Linked DNA regions of Homo sapiens: region 1 is linked to region 2. The links are contacts of gene promoters, found by promoter capture Hi-C in human tissues and cell types (Jung and others, 2019). All regions are on one chromosome and are shown on one strand. The core of a region is centred on a gene start or on the middle of the fragment in contact, and the rest is flanking DNA. Distances in the headings are between cores, read along the strand shown. Region 1 holds the start of MFAP1 (microfibril associated protein 1). Region 2 overlaps GOLM2 (golgi membrane protein 2).

What was found. Contacts are between HindIII fragments. The study calls those that stand out against the background at their distance.
Region 1: a contact is called between the fragment with the promoter of MFAP1 here and a fragment that was not itself captured in region 2, in 2 of the 25 tissues and cell types used here (H1 embryonic stem cells and dorsolateral prefrontal cortex).

The regions. Positions count from the first base shown.
Region 1 is chr15:43,822,638-43,826,037 of GRCh38, reverse strand. It overlaps MFAP1 (microfibril associated protein 1), which reads left to right and starts at 1,348. Exons shown (of 9, transcript NM_005926.3): 1 at 1,348-1,547. The coding sequence starts at 1,469. RefSeq lists enhancers at 901-1,532, 1,285-1,544. The HindIII fragment of the contact is 35,410 bases long and covers 1-3,400 here.
Region 2 is chr15:44,411,659-44,414,949 of GRCh38, reverse strand. It overlaps GOLM2 (golgi membrane protein 2), which reads right to left. Exons shown (of 10, transcript NM_138423.4): 10 at 1-1,614. The coding sequence ends at 1,544. Among named protein-coding and RNA genes, the nearest start is that of CTDSPL2, 14 kb to the left of the region's middle. The HindIII fragment of the contact is 3,102 bases long and covers 1-2,963 here.

The sequences.
Region 1 (3,400 bases), core at 99-2,598, 590 kb after region 2:
CCAATTGTAGAACACAGGTGAAGTAATTTGGGTTAATCATATTAATAGCAACTTCAAGGCCCCTCATGACTCAAAAATTACTGATAAAACCAAACTTTTCATGGTGTCCTGTATAAAACATACTGTTTCTGGACTTTAAGACTTTGTTCCTACTGTCCCTTGTCTCCCCCGCAGTTATAAAGTCCTTTCTACTGTGAAATGTGTCCTGACTTTCCAATTAGCCAATATTATATATATTTTTTAACACGACTCAGCTTGTAAATTGGAGCTGCTTCTGTTATTATCCTGTAAGTCCTTAAAGAGTTCTTAAATAGGCCGGGTGCGGTGGCTCACCTCTGTAATCCCAGCACTTTGGGGAGGCCGAGGTAGGTGGATCATCTGAGGTCAGGAGTTCAAGACCAGCCTGGGCAACATGGCGAAACCCTGCCTCTACTAAAAATACAAAAATTAGCCGGGAGTGGTGGCCCACGCCAACACTCAGCACTGTGGGAGGCCGGAGTGGGCGGATCACTTAAGCCTGGCCAACATGGTGAAACCTCGTCTCTACTAAAAATACAAAAATCAGCAGGGAGTGGTGGCAGGCGCCTGTAATCCCAGCTAATCAGAAGGCTGAGGCACGAGAATTGCTTAAACCCGGGAGGTGGAGACTGCAGTGAGCTGAGATCGAGCCACTGCACTCCAGCCTGGGTGACAGAAAAAGACAGTCTCAAAAGAATAATAATTACTTAGATATTTAAATACAAACATTTTCTAGCCAGGAATGTATTTTAATAGGTAGTTTCCAGAAACTGGAAAAACCTGAAAGCCTAAAAAAGTGGAGTTTTGGGATTTCAGGTGGGCAATGTCCCAGGCACCTCGGGAGTTTTTTTTTTTTTTTTTTCGGTCACTGGCCTAAATCAGCACCACCTGCCCTGTGAAACCAAATACCGCACCACAGCCCACCCTGGCCTTATGAACTAAGCTAATCGGATACTACTGGCAAGATTTTTATTCCATCAAACTCTACTTCTTCTGAGCTTTCAACAAGCCATTCAAACAGTAACTCACTGTCGCCTGAGTTTCTTATTCACTATACCGTTCTTGGCTTCAAACCAAGCTAACACGTAAAATCTTTCATTCGAACCTTCCTCACCGCAGAGTCCTAACAGCAAAGCCCAAAGGAAGCAAAATTTCCCGCCAAAAGCTGCTTCCAAATTCTGCGACGTAGAGGACATGCGGGCAGCCAATGAGCATGCGCAGAAACCGACTCGACTTCCTAGCTGTGGGCGCCCAAACGTCGTCCACCATCCCACAATCCTCTCGTCACGTATTTCCGGTTTATCTAGCTCAGCCGTAAGTAGTTTCTCTATCAGTCGCGCAGCTGTGTTCGCGGACTCAGGTGGAAGGAATTTCTTCTCTTCGTTGACGTTGCTGGTGTTCACTGTTTGGAATTAGTCAAGTTTCGGGAATCACCGTCGCTGCCATCAACATGTCGGTCCCAAGCGCTCTCATGAAGCAACCGCCCATTCAGTCTACGGCTGGGGCCGTCCCAGTTCGCAATGAGAAAGGTACGGTGCTAACACCCTCTTCCCAGTCGAATTTTAACCCCTTCCGGCCCCAGCAACCTCCAGACCTCTCCCGGACAGACCACTCCAACCCCGCCAGCTCTTGAGATCTGGCTGCCAGATTCTTCGATCTTTCCACCCCCACCCACTTGCATCCGATCTTGTTCCTGTGGCCTGCTCTCGTATTCAGCAAGCACCTCTCTTCTGTTAGCCTCCACAAATTCCTTAGACTAATGTTACATATATATAATATATATTACACATATAAAAACATTAGGAACTTAAGTATATATCAGAATATATATGTCTAATATATATATGCTAGAATATATGTATTAGTCTAATATATATTATGATTAGAATATAATATCACTAATTACATATAATTACAAGAATTTATGTATTATTAGTGTAATTACTTAGGAACTTAAGTATATTATTAATCTAATAATTAGGAACTTAAGTATATATCAGAATATGTATATAATATCAGACTAGATAGATAGATAGAGAATGCCTGTTGGCAGGGCATTGTGCGGGATACAGTCCCTCTTTTGCTGTCCATAGAAGTCTGCTTATGCTGCCCAGGCTGGACTCGAATTCCTGGGGCTCAGGCTGTCCTCCTGCCTCAGCCTCCCGAGTAGATGCCGCCGTATCTAGTCTCAACATGGCTTTTGAGAATTATCTTTGGATCCCTATACATCTAATTCATTCATCTTAACAGCTTATGAATTCCATTGTATAAAATAAACTGTAATCCACACTTTATTCCCTACTGAGAGGCAGGTGGTTGTCCCCTTGTTCAAAAAAGTGCTGCGGCCAGGCACGGTGTCTTATGCCCATAAACCCAGCACTTTGGGAGGCTGAGGCGGGCTGAACACCTGAGGTCAGGAGTTCAAGACAGCCTGGCGATCATGGCGAAACCCCGTCTCTACTAAAAATACAAAAAATTAGCCATGCATGGTGGTGGGTACCTGTAATCCCAGCTACTTGGGAATCTGAGGCAGGAGAATTGCTTGAACCCGGGAGGTGGAGGTCGCAGTGAGCAGAGATCGCACCATTGCACTCCAGCCTGGGCCACAGTGTGAGACACTCTCTCAAAAAAAAAAAAAGAAAGTTCTGCAATTGTCATTCTCTAGCCAATACTAGCTTTATTTAGTACCTGTTGCCAATTGCTCCCCAAAGTAAGTTATAAGAACATAAGAATTTGTGGAGCACAGTGGCTTACACCTGTAATCTCAGCACTTCGGGAGGCTGAGGCAGGAGGATCGCTTGAGGCCAGGAGTTCAAGACCAGCTTGGGCAACATAGCGAGACCACCCCCCACCCCCGCCAATCTCTGCAAAAATAAAAATTAGGGCCCGGCGCGGTGGCTCACGCCTGTAATCCCAGCACTTTGGGAGGCTGAGGCTGGTGGATCACCTGAGGTCAAGAGTTCGAGACCAACCTGGCCAACGTGGTGAAACCGTCTCTACTAAAAATACAAAAATTAGCCAGGTGTGGTGGCAGGCGCCTGTAATCCCAGCTACTCGGTAGGCTGAGGCAGGAGAATCACTTGAACTCAGGGGGCAGAGGTTGCAGTGAGCCGAGATCGCACCATTGCACTCCAGCCTGGGGGACAAGAGCAAGACTTCGTCTCAAAAATAATAATAATAATAATAATTAAAAATTAGCGGGATGTAGTGATGTGCTCCTGCTACTTGGGGGAAGCCAAAGCAGGAGGATCACTTATGCTCGAAAGTTCAAAGATGCAATGAGCTATGATTGTGCCATTACACTCCAACCTAAGCAACAGATCAAGACCCTGTCTGTTAAAACAAAGGCTGGGCGTGATGCCTCAGGCCTGTAATCCCAGCA
Region 2 (3,291 bases), core at 163-2,662:
AACCTTTTGTTTTTAGGGGGCAGGATAAGATTTAAAAGTGCTTTAAATCAGAAAACAAGAATTAGCTAGCTTACACATTCCACTGAATAGTGTCAAAAAAGATAAATGCATTTAAAATAATTTGTAAGTCTAGCAAATATAAGCTTGACGGGTTCTTAACTAACATATTAAGTAATTACAAAGATTCATTTTTTTACAAACTTTTAAGCTATTTTAATAAAATGGCTATAGACCTCACTGTACTTCTATTTATCTGTGCATTAATAAAAACCTGTTAAAATTCCTTATTTAGTACTTCTGAAAAAGTCTAATCAAATAAGATCACTAAAATTACCAGAAAAGCTTTGAAATACTGATTGCAGATTCATTTCAAAGTAGATTTAACCCCTTTCAGGATCTGGTGTTTAAATCATGAATGTCTTCACCAACTTCAACTCTGAAAATATAAAAATTTTAGCCAGTTCTGGCTATAGTTAAACAGTACTGGTATTACTTGAAAAAATAAAAATTAAAAATATATTGTCAATCATGCATTCCACAATTTCAAGAACTAAGATATAACTCATAAATACTGTTATGTCTTTGCAGGTTATCTCAATTTCCATCAGGCCTCAGCTGAAAGCTCATCTGCCAAAACACATCAGCACTCATGTAAAATAAAAGGAGTAGGGAGGTGACTTTCTACACAATACTGTACAGTGTTTGGCTTCCAGTTTCCCTCTTGTGTGTAACTATTCTAGGTATGACTCCTTGAGCGTGAAATGAGGGGTAGATAGAACAGAACAGCTGTTGGGCTAACAAGAATTAGTGTGTAGACTGGGCGCAGTGGCTCATGCCTGGAATTCCAGCACTTTGGGAGGCCAATGCAGGAGGATCACCTGAGGTCAGGAGTTCAAGACCAGCCTGGCCAACATGGTGAAACCCGTCTTTATTAAATATACAATTATTAGCTCTCTATTAAAAATACAAAAATTAGCTGGGCATGGTGGTGGGTGCCTGTAATCCCAGCTACTTGGGAGGCTGAGGCAGGAAAATTGCCTGAACCCAGGAGGCGGAGGTTGCAGTGAGCCAAGATTGTGCCATTGCACTCCAGCCTGGGAAACAAGACTAAAACTCTGTCTCAAAAAAAAAAAAAAAAAGAATTAGAGTATAAAAAGTTTTCTGCTGAATATCTGTTCTGTTCTTACTGTGGTTATGCTATGCCACATATAACCTGTACAACTATTTTGTCCTGTTTATCTATTTGTGGAAATAAGTCGGCTCAATAAAATGTGAAATATACATTAGTTTGCTTTAGATGCAAAGATTAGCTGTTTTTGGCTTAACTGTATCATAACCAAAAAAGTCTATACCTTGATAATACAATATGAAAAAGTTCACATATGTACATGGGTACATTCCTTCATTAAAGTTTTTCCTTAATTCTATCTCAATGTATCTTTACAACTGATACAATTCGTCTTTACAACAAAAGTCAGAAAGGACAAAGTAGAATGATTTCATTTTACAGCACTTTAGGTTTTCTGAAGCATTCCTTTAGGACTTAAAGGACATCATTGAAATGTTGCTTTCCATAGTCTGCAGGATCCATTTGAAGCTCTCGTTCTTCATCATCTGTAAGTAAAATAATTTTGTATCAACATATTATTTTTTAAATCACTGCAGAAATCCAATTAATGTCTCAGTTTTTCATAGCCTTAAGGTAGTTTCCTGCTTGTTATTTTACACCTAGTACAAATAGTGTTCTATTTCTTAGTTGCTTGGCTAAAGAGTGAAAAGTATGTGGAACTATTTTGCAAGATTAATTTTAACAAATCTTTAGAAAATAGACATAGATGACAGACAAACAGAAATAGAGCCAGATAGACATAACTAGTAAAACTTTAGGAACGCACAAATATTGAGGAGTTAATATTTTTATATAAATGTAGTCTTTTTTTTTTTTTTGAGACCGACTCTCACTCCGTTGCCTAGGCTGGAGTGCAGTGGTGCGATCTTGGCTCACTGCAACCTCTGTCTCCCAGGATCAAGCGATTCTCCTACCTCAGCCTCCCAAGTAGCTGGCACTACAGGCACCTGTCACCATGCCTGGCTAATTTCTGTATTTTTAGTAGAGACGGGGTTTTACCATGTTGGCCAGGCTGGTCTCAAACTCTTCACCTCAGGTGATCTGCCCACCTCGGCCTCCTAAAGTGCTGGGATTACAGGCGTGAGCCACAGTGCCCAGCCTAAATATATTATTTCTATATAGATGATATTTAGTCCTTTAAATTAAAGCTTTGGTAGAAACATTTCTGTACACATTTTCAGGCTTTTAAACATCAATTTTTTTTTCTAAATTATAAAAGTATCCAATATTAGTATTTTTAAAATTATAAAAGACAGAAAAATAAAAGTCACTCATAATCCCAACATTTAACATTTTAGTGAATTTCTTTACGTCTCTGCAAAAGTAGCTTCCTCTTGGCTTCCTAAATGGGGTATAACAACCAAAGTTTAACCTTTTCTTAACTAAACAGAAAAAAAAGATTACTGTTACTAAAATCCTCAAAGCCTCTTTGAGTGGCTGTATTAAATTACTCCAAATAGTGCTATGGAGTTTGATTTATTTGGCTATTACAGATTTTTCTGGCTCTTTCTTGGCTATGAGTTGTGATCACTTTGCCTTCTTGTCAATTTACCTGCCAATAGCAATCCTTCTTTTCTAATTTTGCTGCAAATTACAGGTTTTGAAATGAGACTGCTGAAGAGGTTTTTTTGTTTGTTTGTTTGTTTGTTTTTCTGAGACAGAATCTTGCTCTGTTGGCCAGGCTCAAGTGTAGTGGTATTATCATGGCTCACTTGCAGTCTCAACCTCCCGGCCTCAAGTAATCCTCCCACCTCAACCTCCCAGGTAGCTGGGACCACAGGTGCACGCCACCACACCAGGCTACATTTTGTATTTTTTGTAAAGACAGGGTTTTGCCATTTGCCCAGGCTAGTCTGGAACTCCTGGGCTCAAGTGATCCACCGGCCTCAGCCAAGAGTATTAAAATTATATTAGAACAAGAATGAAAAGTATTTTGATGAGAGCCTTGGAGAGTCCCTTTGGAGTACATGGATTTTTTTTTTTTTTTTTTTTGAGATGCAGTCTCATTCTGTCGCCCAGGCTGGAGTGCAGTTGCATGATCTCAGCTCAATGCAACCTCTGTCTCCTGGGTTCAAGGGAATCTCCTGCCTCAGCCTCCTGAGTGGCTGGGACTAAAGGCGCTTGCCACCGCACCCAGCTAATTTTTGTATTTTTAGTTTCAC